Linked DNA regions of Homo sapiens: region 2 is linked to region 1. Evidence: promoter capture Hi-C in human tissues and cell types (Jung and others, 2019). All regions are on one chromosome and are shown on one strand. The core of a region is centred on a gene start or on the middle of the fragment in contact, and the rest is flanking DNA. Distances in the headings are between cores, read along the strand shown.

The links. Contacts are between HindIII fragments. The study calls those that stand out against the background at their distance.
Region 2: a contact is called between a fragment that was not itself captured here and the fragment with the promoter of CSNK2A3 in region 1, in 3 of the 25 tissues and cell types used here (dorsolateral prefrontal cortex, hippocampus and pancreas).

What each region holds. Positions count from the first base shown.
Region 1 is chr11:11,349,134-11,356,354 of GRCh38, reverse strand. CSNK2A3 (casein kinase 2 alpha 3) reads left to right here and starts at 3,105. Exons shown (of 1, transcript NM_001256686.2): 1 at 3,105-4,413. The coding sequence starts at 3,236. The coding sequence ends at 4,411. All of the region lies in intron 6 of GALNT18 (polypeptide N-acetylgalactosaminyltransferase 18), which reads left to right. The HindIII fragment of the contact is 7,765 bases long and covers 1,785-7,221 here.
Region 2 is chr11:11,508,257-11,515,260 of GRCh38, reverse strand. The region is part of intron 1 of GALNT18 (polypeptide N-acetylgalactosaminyltransferase 18); the gene reads left to right. Among named protein-coding and RNA genes, the nearest start is that of GALNT18-AS1, 58 kb to the left of the region's middle. RefSeq lists an enhancer at 5,425-5,926. The HindIII fragment of the contact is 4,338 bases long and covers 2,553-6,890 here.

The sequences.
Region 1 (7,221 bases), core at 1,856-4,355:
AAGGTAGCTTCTTGGCCACCATTACATTGTTATTCTAGTTTTCCTGGAAGAGACCACCAAGCAAGGCCAGAATCATTTCCTCAGAAGAACTGCCACAAACTGAGCAAGGGTTCCTTCTCCTCCTCCTCTGACACTGCTGTGGTTTTCCTTGGACAAGATCCGATATTCATAAATCTGAAGTTGCAGAAGGAGGGGTCAGGGGCATCTCCAAATACAAATGTTCTTGGCTTTGTAAAGCAATGCAAAGGGCAGGGTACCTGTGAGCACATTTTTTTCTAGTGCTGTAGGTGCTGGTATCCAGAAATTACCCTTACACACAAGTTTTTCTATAAAGTTTGGTATCCAGAAATTACCCCTGCACACAAGTTTTTCTATAAAACAAAGCCTACCTGTATACAAAGTCAGTCCTGAAAATAAAGAGTTAACCCCTGGTGTAAATGGCCCAGGAACACCATTCACTCCTTTAGGTCTTGCCTCTCTCTCTTTCTGTCTGTCTAGTTTGGGAAAGTTCAAGAGACAGGGCTCTGGTCTCTGGAGCACTGAATGGTGGGGTGCTCTGTTTTATTCCTCAGGCCTGCTTCAAATGCTGCACATCAGGAGGTGAGGGTCTTGATGACTTGCTTAATTTTCACCACACTAGGATTGTAGTAATATAGAGAAATCATGGACTAGGGGAGGGAAAAGATTAGTAAGACCATGATTTTAAGACAGATACTTATTTGGGATTTCAGTGTTTCTAAAATCAGGTTGGACCTTATACATTTGGCATATATAAATAAATAATAAATATGTAAATAAATTTTAATTTACTGTCCAAACTAGAAGCTTTTGCGAGTGAAAGGGGGTGCTACTAATAACAGTGGAACACTAGGTATAAACCAGAATAGTCCCCAGCAAACCAGAACATATGGTCATTCTACTGAGAATTTTTTGTGCATGTTTAATCACCTCCTTAAATGCCCCATCTCCAATATAGTCACATGGGGAGTTACAGCCTCAGCATATGAATTTGAGGAAGGGGGAGACAATTCAGTCCATAGGGAGTGCTGTAACAGAAAAAACACAGTGTAAGTATCAGAAAGTCAGGGATTTTTTATATTTTGTTCTGTGGTAAGATTCCCATCTCCTACAACAAAGACTGGCACATAGTAAGTGCTCAGTAAATAATTGCTGAACTGCATTAAAGCAGAGGAGGGACATGCTCTGATGTATAATTTTAAAAAGTGGATTGGAGGGCAATACGGATTGAAGGGCAACACGACAACGCAGAAAGACCAGGGAAGAGGCTCTGGATGGAGATGCCCACACAAAAATAATAGGGACTTGGACCAGGATGTTGGCTGTGCAGATGGAGAGAAGTGATTAAATTCAAGCTATATTTAGGAGGTAGAACTGTCTGCTTTTGCCGATGTATTGGATGTGGAGAGGGAGGAAGAAGACATTGCTACAGATGAATTACAGGTTACAGGCTTCGGCTATTAGATGGATGAGGGGCAGACTAAGGGACAGATGGGGAGGCAGGGAAGAAAATCGGGAACTTCGTTTTGGACATGGTAAGGTTGAGATGCCTGAGACACATGAGAGTGAAGGTGAGACGTAGGCACTTGGGTATATAAATCTTGAGCTCAGAGGAATGTAGTGTGTTTTCCCCTGTCCCGAAAAGCTGTGGTATAGCAATAGTGAATCTTATCATCAGTGGAATATTATAGTGATAATAATTATAGCTGATACTTAGGGGCCTCTAAACTTCTTCCAGGTGATGAAATAAACTGTCTCTGTGTATTACTTCATTTAATTCTCACAGCAACTATCTTTGGAATTTATCACTTTTATCTCCATTTCATAGACAAGGAAACTGAGTGTTGGAAGGTGAAGTGAATTGCCTAAAGTCACCAGTTCAGCAAATGGGAAATGTAGGACTTGACACCAAGACTGTTTGGCCCCAGAGGCTATGCTCTGAACCATAATGACTTCCTGTCTTCCAAAAGGCAGGCTCTTGGATCCATATCTTACTGTGCTTCTAAATTATCCTGTGACCCTGAACCTTAGTTTGCTCACCTGGGAAATGAAGGGAGGTCCTGGTTAGGTTCCCTTCAGTTCTACTCTATTGCAGTATGCTGATCTCTTTTGTAAATCTGTATTAAATGAGAGTTTGCTATCGGTGACTTTCAGAGATGACACCAGTGATGATGCCCATGCTGACGATTCATTCTGATGTCTATGAAAAGAGCAAATCCTTTAAGAGAAGATGTAGCATACCAGTGTTTATAATCTGAGTTTCATTTGATTAAGAGGGGAAGCTCTTTAGAACAAATATCATTTCTGAGCGAGAGAATGTTCAGCATCTCAGCCTCATTTGTATCATTTGATAAAAGGGCCCCACTGAGCCAAGTGTGAGGATGATGCTTGAGCCAGACACATAGACACCAGACATTCCTCTGATGTCTGCTCCCCAGGCTTGGCCACATTGCCTCCCACCAACCCCATCTCAATGACACATCCATTACCTGCCATCAGTTGGCTCTATGGTGCTGGGAATGACAGAGTGTATCTACCCTGGATTTCAGAAAGAACCCTCCTGGCTTATCATGGCAACACCCTTTGGACACTCGTTTAAAGAGTCCTTCTTTGGGCCAGTGTTATCCTTTTGGGGGCATCTGGTATGGACGGCCAATTTGAATCTGACTGGGACATGCTAATGAGCCATTCATATGTGTGGGATTTGTTTCTGATTCGATTAAGCTTCAGAGAGAGGAAAGAAACAGCCACTGATTAGAGACATAAAAAAAGAAATACTTTAAGTGAGTAAGTGGTTCATCTTCATATAGGAAAGTATAAATTAAACATGGTCCAGGAGATGTGCTTTGAATAGCAGCTGGATAGCACAAGCATGTCCACAAGGAGACGGTGCCTCACAGCAATTGAAAGGGACTTAACCCCCAAAAAGGGCTCTGAATATGCTGAGTAAATAGATGAGCCCAGTTAGCTGATAAAAATGACTCTCAGATTAGAGATGGGAAGGTTTTTATTTGGATTTTAGAAAATTGCTCCCCACTCCATCGCCGCCATATTGTCTGTGTGAGCAGAAGGGAGAGCGGCCACAGCCGCTGCCGCTTCCACCACAGTGTGAAGAAAACAGGTCTGAAACAAGGTCTTACCCCCAAGCTGCTTCTGAACACAGTGACTGCCAGATCTCCAAACATCAAGTCCAGCTTTGTCCGCCAACCTGTCTGACATGTCGGGACCCGTGCCAAGCAGGGCCAGAGTTTACACAGATGTTAATACACACAGACCTCGAGAATACTGGGATTACGAGTCACATGTGGTGGAATGGGGAAATCAAGATGACTACCAGCTGGTTCGAAAATTAGGCCGAGGTAAATACAGTGAAGTATTTGAAGCCATCAACATCACAAATAATGAAAAAGTTGTTGTTAAAATTCTCAAGCCAGTAAAAAAGAAGAAAATTAAGCGTGAAATAAAGATTTTGGAGAATTTGAGAGGAGGTCCCAACATCATCACACTGGCAGACATTGTAAAAGACCCTGTGTCACGAACCCCCGCCTTGGTTTTTGAACACGTAAACAACACAGACTTCAAGCAATTGTACCAGACGTTAACAGACTATGATATTCGATTTTACATGTATGAGATTCTGAAGGCCCTGGATTATTGTCACAGCATGGGAATTATGCACAGAGATGTCAAGCCCCATAATGTCATGATTGATCATGAGCACAGAAAGCTACGACTAATAGACTGGGGTTTGGCTGAGTTTTATCATCCTGGCCAAGAATATAATGTCCGAGTTGCTTCCCGATACTTCAAAGGTCCTGAGCTACTTGTAGACTATCAGATGTACGATTATAGTTTGGATATGTGGAGATTGGGTTGTATGCTGGCAAGTATGATCTTTCGGAAGGAGCCATTTTTCCATGGACGTGACAATTATGATCAGTTGGTGAGGATAGCCAAGTTTCTGGGGACAGAAGATTTATATGGCTATATTGACAAATACAACATTGAATTAGATCCACGTTTCAATGATATCTTGGGCAGACACTCTCGAAAGCGATGGGAACGCTTTGTCCACAGTGAAAATCAGCACCTTGTCAGCCCTGAGGCCTTGGATTTCCTGGACAAACTGCTGCGATATGACCACCAGTCACGGCTTACTGCAAGAGAGGCCATGGAGCACCCCTATTTCTACACTGTTGTGAAGGACCAGGCTCGAATGGGTTCATCTAGCATGCCAGGGGGCAGTACGCCCGTCAGCAGCGCCAATGTGATGTCAGGGATTTCTTCAGTGCCAACTCCTTCACCCCTTGGACCTCTGGCAGGCTCACCAGTGATTGCTGCTGCCAACCCCCTTGGGATGCCTGTTCCAGCTGCCACTGGCGCTCAGCAGTAACGGCCCTATCTGTCTCCTGATGCCTGAGCAGAGGTGGGGGAGTCCACCCCCTCCTTGATGCAGCTTGCGCCTGGCGGGGAGGGGTGAAACACTTCAGAAGCAACGTGTCTGAACCGTTGCTTGTGGATTTATAGTAGTTCAGTCATAAAAAAAAATTATAATAGGCTGAAAAAAAAAAAAAAGAAAATTGCTCCCCAAATCCCTATGACATTTAAGCTCATTGTCATTCTCTGGCAGCACCAGTGACAGTAATGGGGGCCAGAGATCCTATTTCAAAACAAAGAAGTGATTACAGTAGATAGCGCAGGTGTCAATGGGACCCTGATTTGGAACTTGCTAATACTTCTGTCTCTGAGTTTGGGGCTTCTATAGGGTTTTGGTTCCATAGATATGCCTGGACTTGAACTAGCTTACCTTCCCAGCCTTGTGCATCGGGAAGCTGTGAGGGTCAGATCCTTCTAGATTTTGTGTCCCCTTACAAGGGTTGGAAGAGTCTGGCTGCAGCCCTGGCCTCACCAGCTGGCTCCCTCTTGCGTAAGTGGAGTTGCCACAGGGCTTCTGTCTGTGGCTTTCCAAGGAACCTGGAGCTGTATGTCATCTTCAAACCTGGACCTTTCCTCTACCACCCTGGCTAGCTTCACCCTTGGTTTCCTGCCCTCTGCTCTGGTTCTGAGTTTGAACCAAACTCTCACAGCAGCCCGATGTGCAGGAGTCCAAATGTCCTGCCTGCCCCTTGCAGCTCCCTCTCTCACCCCTTGGGGCTAGATCTGCTCCCTGCATCCTCAGCCTCTAGTGGGGTACTGCTTTGAATGAACTCATCAGCTGGAATTGGGAAGCGGTCACCTTCCAGACACTCCATCTGTCCCTATACCTGGAGCTTTCTCATATGAGCCCCACACAATAGATTGAACCTCTGGAAACTGGTGCCTGCAGGGACCATGCCTCTTTGGTCACCTTGCCTCTTTACATACTGGCAGCATCACAGACTGAAACAGCAGCTCTCAGAACTGCTGGAAATAGAGGTTACCCAGGAAATGTCCTATTTTGCTCACACAGTCCCCTGAAGGCTGGCTGGGAGGCTCTCCTGTGCAGCTTTTCTCCAAGTAGTGACTTGGGGACTCTGATTGCTTCTCTTGTGGGTTCAGCATCTTTGAACTTCAAGTTCACCCTGGCTTAAACATCCAGCAGATGGTGGGGTGGGGAGTAGAAGTGCACCTAAGGAGACACACTGGATAGTCACCTGCCTTCCCCGGGAAGTGGCAGAGGCCATGTCCTCTCTCATCTCATCGATTTGCACCCTCCTGACTGCAAGGGGTGCAGGGAAATATGGAGGAGCACCCAGGTGTCAGTGAGCAATAGGGGTCTCTGCCACACCTTTGGAGACCACTCTACTCCTGGCTCAGTTTCCCAACCCCTGTATGTCAGAGCCTGACGTCTTCCTTTTTCCAACTTGTCTTGAGTCCCATCTGGCCTGAGTTTGAACAATAGTAATCAGGCCTGTTGGCTGATATGAGATTTGAGGTAACCACGAATAAGCCCTTCTTGGTCAGAACCATTAAAGATAACTTCTAGTCTCAATGACCACACATTTGCAAAGCAGTCCTCCTGGAATGTCCTTCCCTGAACTCCTGTGGCCCAGTCATTATAGGCAGAGCACTGGGTCCAAGGAAAAGCCAGGCCCCCTGTATGGGATGGGCCAGTTTGCTGAGAATGACACATTACTGTTGCCCCTCTAACTTGACCCTGGGTTTCCTGTGGGTAAGCAGCTGTTTCAGCAAATCCCAGATTCCTGCAAAACAGCCTTTTAAGTTTTTCTTCATGGAAAGCTTCCAGACATTCCAGCCCAGCTTGTCTCTCCTTGGAATTCTGCCCAATGAATCCTGCTGCCTCTGATAGTTATGAGGGATCCCTTTCAAACAGAGGAACTGCTTCAACTGTTTGTTAGGGCTAACCCAAATGTTCAGACCCCTTCAGGGACACCTTCCAAGAAAAAGCATCATTTTTTTTTCCAAGCAGCAATTCCACACAGAGGACTCTTCGGAAGTGTTGATTGCAAGAAGAGGGCTTGGGAAACCATATCCTCAGGGAGTGTTTTTCTGCAGGCTCTGATGAAAGGAATAAGCATTGTCAGATTTTTTAAATGTTCTCTTACACTAAAATACATTAAAATAACTAAATATGTACCCCAGGAAACCTGGGAGAACACCAAGTAAAGTGCACTGAGGATAACGCAGAACTAAAGCCTAGCTCTGGTTCCTTCATTCGTGCAATTTATATTTTTTTGAGCACCGCTCATGTGCCAGCCCTGTTTAGTGTCTTGGTGAGGACAAAGTTGACATGAGCCTTCTCTCAGAGTTCGGTATTGTGGGCACATAAACAACAAAAAACCTCTCTCTCACTAGTAATCAGGGGAGGTTGCAAATTAAAACTGCGGTGAGGGAGAATTTCTTGCCCATCAGATTGGCAAAAATTTTAAAGTTGGACAATGTCAAATGTTGGCAAGGATAGGAAGCAATATGAGCCTCATCCATGCTGGTGGGAGTATAATGTGATCCACATTATTTGGAACAGTGTCACTTTTCCTAGGAAAGTTGAACATGTGTATATAACCTATGCTCCAGAAATTTCAGTGAGATAAATACATGGAGGCCTGCCCACTCTCGTGCACCAGGAGACACATACAAGCGCGTTCCGAGGAGCACCATCCGTAATACCGGAAACAAGACTGTCGACCAACTAAAGAGAGCATAAATAAATTACTGCATATTTATACAATGGAACACTATGGTGATGAAAATAAATGAAGCAAG
Region 2 (7,004 bases), core at 3,472-5,971, 160 kb before region 1:
AATAGCCCACATTTACTGAGTACGGGTCATTTGCTGTGCCTAGTACCAAGCCCTTTGCAGGGTGACCTCATATTATTCTCATGGTATCTTAGGAGAGGCCCCTATTCTCAGTTTACAGAGTGCATAGCTGAGCCAACAGAAAAGTGAAGTGACTTGCTCAAAGACCCGCAGCTAGAAAGTGGCAGATTCAAAACTTGAATGCGGGCTCTGGATCTGGCCTCTGTAATGCCTCTCATTTGGACCACACAAGCGTAGTGCACAGTTGGCTCTTGATAAATAATGGCTGTTCTCCTTCATAGGATCTGTCTTTTCCCATGGCTAAATTGTCTCTTGGTTTCGGTCCACTTTTGGATTCCTGGTCCTTCATCCTCCCATGAGCAACCAAACCTCTGCCTCCTGGTCCAGATCCTTCACTTGCCCTCACTCTTGGGACCTTCTTAGGCTCTGGGCTCCAGCCTGCTCTGCTCTGGTTGCTCCTGCCTCTGCTGCCACTCAGTTGAGTCTGTCTTGGTGCCATCAGCCTCTTCTGTAACCTCCAGTCCCTCTACCAGCAGCCAGATGGAAGCAGCTGGGAGCACAGGTCAGCTGGCAGGCCAAAAGTAGAAGTCTATTTGAACTACTGATGGTTTCCTTGAGTTTTCCATTTGTAGGGCAAGAGTAGGAAGGGGTCGCAGGACTAGTGGCTTGTGGCTGCAATCCGATGGGTGACAAGCAATGGGAAATGTGAAATTTCACATTTAGAAAACTGATTCCTCTGTGTAACAGCTGTTCTTATTCACGCTCAGAGATGCCAGGATTGGTGACCCTTGGCCACAAGGGAGGCCTGCCATCCATTGTCATTACAAGGGGAGTGCTCAGGGAGGCTGCTTCCTTGGAGGTGGCTTCAGGAATTCTGCTGTGTAAAGGAAAGCATTTCTGCTATTCCAAATGGGGAGCCTCTGCCTGCAACTCAGAGGGGATTTCCCTGCAGGGCCAGCCTGGGGCAGGCAATTGCAAGCATGGGTTTTGGAGCTCCAGTACCTAGATATGGTTTAAGCATAGGCCCCAACACTTACTCCCTGTGTGACTTAGATAAGTGACTTCATGTTTCTGAGCCTCAGTTTCCTCTTCTGTGATGTGGGAATCATTGGATGGGTTTGGGTCCAAGTTTCTCTTTAAGTGAGCGTATTTTAGAAAGCCCCCTTCTCTGTTCCAGCCTCCTCCTCTGTAATCACAAGGCATCTCACAGCAACAGGGTCCCCTCACTCCCAGTGGCTTCTCCTGGCCCTTGGGGGGAACCAGCACTCAGGGTCTGAGCTGCTCACCAGTAGTTTGCCCCATTTTCCACCCGTGACCCATTCAAGCCTTGTGCCTTTTTTCCTAGAAGTCCCATCAGAGTGAGTTCCCTGTAGCTGCCTAGAAACACATTTCAGTCCCACTTACAACAAAAGAACAACCACCTTTAAAGCTTTACAAAAAAAATAAATAAATAAATTATGTTCCCCCTGAACAGTCCCAGAAGAAATGTCATTGGAGACATAAAACTGTTTTACTGTGACCTATGTAAACGTCCCGGGAAATAAACTGACTTCTCATTCCATAAAATCCTCTTGTCCTTTGTCTTGAACAAAACAGATTGGATTACTTGAAAAACAGGAGCTTGAGGCTTGGCAGAGAAGACAAAGTTCAATCATAATGCAGAGGTATGGGGCAAGGCTTTCCATTCTGGGAAGCACAGCTTTATTAGTTTTATTGCCTAAGTCCTCTTTGAGATGTGCCAATCTCAGCTTCTTGTGGGATGTGGAAGGACAACCCACGTCTTTGAAAGAGATAGACCCTGTGGCCAGTGGAGGGTTGAAAAACCAGAGTCAGATTCTCCCAAAATGATTCAATCAGGAGTTGCTCAGAACAGAGCAAGGGACAGGAAGTCAACTGATGTTTATCAACCCTCTGCAATGTGCCAAGCACTGTGCTAATTCCTTTTCTTCAAGCCTCGTATCTGTTGCTGCCAGCCTTTGGAGGGAGGTTTATGATTCCCATATTACAGAAGAAGAACTGAGGCTCAGAGACATGCAGTGCCTTCCCTAAGGTCACACAGGGAGTGAGCACTCAAGTTTGGACTTGAGCCCAGGTCTGAGTGTCCGTGACTCCACACTACAAGCTCATCTTCATCCAGCTGCCCTTTTCTCCCCTAGATGTATTTCTGTGGTCCAGAAGGGAGGGGTGCCTGTTGTTCTGGGTCTGTCTGTTGGGAAATCTACATGGAGTCTCATCTGTACTTAATATCCAGTGCCTTTTCTGTTTTCATGCCTGTATGTGTAAGTACACAGATGCACACGCACAGGTACCACGCACACAGACACACACACAGATCACACACACGGGCCACCTGAGTGATGAGAGGAGTTAGTGTCATTATGGGACTTTGTCGAGAGGCATCCTTTTTCTAGGCAGCACCCGTGTGTCCTGGTGTCCATGTGATAGATGGGTTAGGAGAGTAGCAGAGCATGGTAATACCACTGTGTTAAGGCACATAACGAGCCCAGGCCTCAGGTGCCGCCAGACTCTCCGTAGCACCTTCTAAACACAGTCCCTGTGCAAACTGCCAATTTGGATGAAGAACCTGTCACTAAAATTAGGTTGGATAAGGTCTGAGCTGGGCTGAGCTATAATGTAGATATGGCTGATTTACTGTCACAGCACTGGGCTCAGAAAGAAACTATGTGTGTGTACCTGTGTGTGTCCCCATATATGTGAGAATAAGGGTCAGACCCCCTTTCACATCTTGTTCCTAATTCTTTGCCGCACTCAGAATAAAGAATTTCCACAGGATTGGATGCTTTCCTCCATCTCTGAGTGAAATCCAGAGAGAATCTGTAAATGACAAGCACCATGAACTATTTCCACAAGGAAAAACAGTCTGTCCTCCTGGCGGATCTGGGTCAGGCGGAGTCTGACAGCTGTGAGATGGGGTCAAGAGTGCCAGGCCATCATGAGACAGACTGCTCTCCACACTGTGTGTGAGGTCACATGCCACTTGGACCTAGGGCTAAATTCACCCTTTACTCCTGCCCAGGAGACACGGCTCAGCCCTGAACCCATGGGGGCAGGCGGTTTCAGATGGAAAAATTGGCTTTCGTCTTTGGTGACTTTAATAAAGAATTCTTAACTTAGACTTCTGGATGGGCTTTAGGGAATCTGTGAATGTGTAAAAATTATGGGAGTAACTCTGTGTATGTATATGTATACATGTAAACATATGTATGTGTGTATATATGTAGACATGTGTATACATATGATGGTATGCATACATATACATATGTATATGTGTTGATCAGTTTGAGCTGCTGTAACAAAGCACCATAGAGTGGATGGCTTACAAACAACAGAAATTGATTTTTCATAGTTCTGGGGGCTGAAAGTCCCAGATCAGGGTACCAGTGTGGTCCGGGTCTGGTGAGGGCCCTCTTCTGGGTTGTTTACTGCCAACTTCTCATTGTATCCTCACATGGCAAAAAGAGACTGGGAGAGCTCTCTGGCCTCTTCTTAGAAGGGCACCAATATACCATTGATGAGGGCTCCACCCTTATGATCCAATCACCTCCCAAAGGCCCTACCTTCAAACATCATCACACTGGGGATTAGGTTCCAACCTATCAATTTTAGTGGAAACAGAAGCTTTCATTCCATAACACAGTGTGCACATGTATGCATTTTCTGGAGAGATAGTCCAAGCCTTTTCTCAGATTTTCTGAGGGGTGAGTGGCTCAGAAGTAAAGAACCACTGCATTAGCCAGGTCTCCTCAGGATTGTCTGGGGCCTATTCTGGGGATCACATGTATGGGGTCGCTCTGTTAGCTGTAGGGGACTGGCTAGGTCATGCTTCAGCCTTGGCTGCGGGGACACAGCAACCTTGAGCTGTAGCTCTTTGCAGACCAGTGTGTAAGGTCTGAGACCAGGGCCTGGTGGCAGTAATTAGCTTCAAGGAGCCCTCCCTGCGTGAAGCTGGACAGCCGGTCCCTTCAGTCTTCAGCAGATTCTTTGGCTGGGATTCCATGATTCAGCTCCTGAATGCAGCCCTTGAATACTTCAATGCCATTATTCACAGCGAGAAACCTCATTCAGTCCAAAAGGAGGGGCAGCCTGTTTTTACAACCCCCGGGAGAGAAGGCCTTCAGCTGCAGCCTGGCCCTCTCTTGCATCACCTGGCAGGCTGCATGTCTTTGTCAGGAGTCAAGTGGAAGGCGGTACCAGCTGCACGCCCCGCCGAGAGGAAAGAGTGCCGGTTGTGTCTGTCCGGGCACCATCCTCATGTTAGAGCTACAGAGAGGCATGTAGAGGTGGTACACAGAAGTCTGGGTCAGGAAGGCCTGCAGCCTGAAAGCCTGAGGATGGAGCTCAGCGAATGCATATATAGGGCTGAGCTCTGGGACTGTCCACTATCACAGAAGCCTGGCTTTGAAATGATGTTGCAATGTGCCCAGCCCTGAGATTTGCCCTGGAGTCACAGAGATCCCATTTTCTAGAGAAGATCACAGCCTAGAAGAAAAGATAGATGGGCCAACAGGTCACACAAGGTGGTGTGAAAAGTGGCACAGTAGCTGGATAACTCCTTAAAGGCAGGCACCTTCATTTCTATTTCTTGCACTGAGCCCCAGGTTAGACCCAGGAAATGCATCTCTGGAAGGCAGCTATGCTCACCACTATACCACCAATGCAGGGAATGCATCTCTAAAGGCATGAGTGCCTTGCATATAGTTTGTGTTCTAAGGGACTTTCTGCATGCCCAGTGCCTGGTACAAGGCCTGGAAATGAGCTGTACTCATGGAAGGTTTGCAGAAGTGACCTGAATAGAGGTTGGAACATGGTGAGGCCTTATCACAGAGACGACCCAGGGTAGGGAGCTTTACCTGGTTTCATATTTAATGCTTCTGACCTGCCCTTCTCACAGGGCCCCTGGGAGAGTATACTGAGACAGCAGATGTTAAAATAGTTTGTGTACTTTAGTGCCAGGCAAAATATGGGCTCCCATTAAAGGTGGTTTTCCTATTGTGAGGCTTTCCACACCCTTCATGTCACATTGCCTTGTGTGAATCTTGGGTGCTTCAGATCCATCAGCGTGGTCTCTGTGACTTGGTGGTAATGCTCCTTTTGGGCTGCAGCTGAGTCTTCCCTTGTGTTGAGTTTTCCATGCTGTGGCCAGCATCTGCATGTAGTTGGTACTCACTGGGCCATAGTGAAGTGTCTGGAGTGTTCTGATGCTGTAACCAGGGACCTTGGGTGCTCTGCTGGAAGGTCCTGCCCTCAGAAGGCTTCTCAGAGGATGTGACCACCGATGCTGTGTCTTATACAAATACTCTTTCTGCGTGGTGCTGGGAGTGACCCCAGATATAGCCAAAGAAGGGAGATTGCTCTCCAATTGTCACCATGAACAGGATCTTTCAGTTTCCCACAGAGGATGGAGTAGCGCATGTGTTAATCACAGGGCAGTGAAGGTCTTGAATTCAGATATGCCAGCATGTGGCCAAAGGCCTGTGGCCAGTCCTCTGCTCTCTGCCAGTGGCTAGGCACAAAGGGCTGAGGCCTCTATTTATTTCTGATGAGATGTGCTGAGGGAGAAATGACTGGAGGCATGGAGAGGGGGGAAAGTCATTCCGTCTTCAAAGGAGCACAAACAATTGATGTGACTCCAAGCTTTCTCTCCATTGTTCAGTAACTACTTATTGAGCAGTTACCATGCATAGCACATGATGCTAGGCCTGGGGCTAGGGGAGAAATAACACCAATTCTGTTCTTAGAGTTTTCACCCAAGGCTAGATTAAGATGTATTGGGTCCTAAGAATCACAGTGCTCCCTTCCCCTCTTTCCTGAATGTAATGCAAAATAAAAATATATTAAATTATGAATATATAAAAACAATTCCAGCAGTTCTAATTGTTCCCATGATAACTACTTAAATGTTTAAAAAATCTTTCTTTGGATATCAAATTGTTTCAAAAATATTTTGGTATTAGAACTTCACTGATGTTCTGAAAACAAGCTCAGTGTGCCATTTAGATACCAAGGGCCCTAATTGTCACAGATTAAGAGAAGTCAGAAAAGGAGGAAGCTTTTTTTTTTCTTTTCTTTAGCAAACACTTGTGAAAGATGAGAATCAGGGCATTCAAGACAGAGGATTCAGAATGGGCAAGGGAAAAGCATGGGGGTGTAGAAGAAGAAGAGAAAAGTTCAGTTTGGTCCGAGAGGTAGGGAAGTCATGGGAGAGGGGTGGGAGCTGGGGCCAGATCTGGTTGAGCCTGAGTGCCAGATAAGGAGTTTGGGTTGTATCGGGTAGTTCTTGGGAGCCATCAAAGATTTCTGAGCCTCTCTTTGTTATTGTAAACCAATTTCCACATTCAGGATATTCAAAACCACCCTTGCATAGCATTTAAGAGTATCTACAGTGATGGAGTGAAGCTGGAGTAATTGAGTATTGGTAATTGCTTTCACTGTGCTTTGGTGGAATGCATTTTAGAAATGGAGTTCTATCCTGTAAGTGCATCTATAGGAAAAAAGTGCCAAAGGCTTCATTATCATTAACCAGTGCCAAATGGGATTTGCAGAGAGAGTGAAGTGAATGAAGACCATGCCTCTGTCTTCTGATTACTGCTTGAATCTGTAAGGGAGGGATTACAATAATTGCAGCGACTAAAAAACAACAACAATTTGGGGAAGCAGATATTCACATGGCCTTGGAGTAACACCCACACATTACTTATTAATTACAAACGAATGAAGTACTTTTACGATGGAGAAATATGGCAGATGCCACCTTAATCAAGTGACCACACTTAGAATTACCAATAATGGGGCAAACTGACATTATGTGGCTTTTGATGGAGTGCAGTGGGATGAGCACAACATCACTTATGTAGTATTTGCCAAACATCTTTGACCTGAATCTAATAAAGAGATATTAATCAGACACATTCACATTATAAGATCTCCTACCTCAAATAGCGTATCCTCTAAAAATGTCAATGATT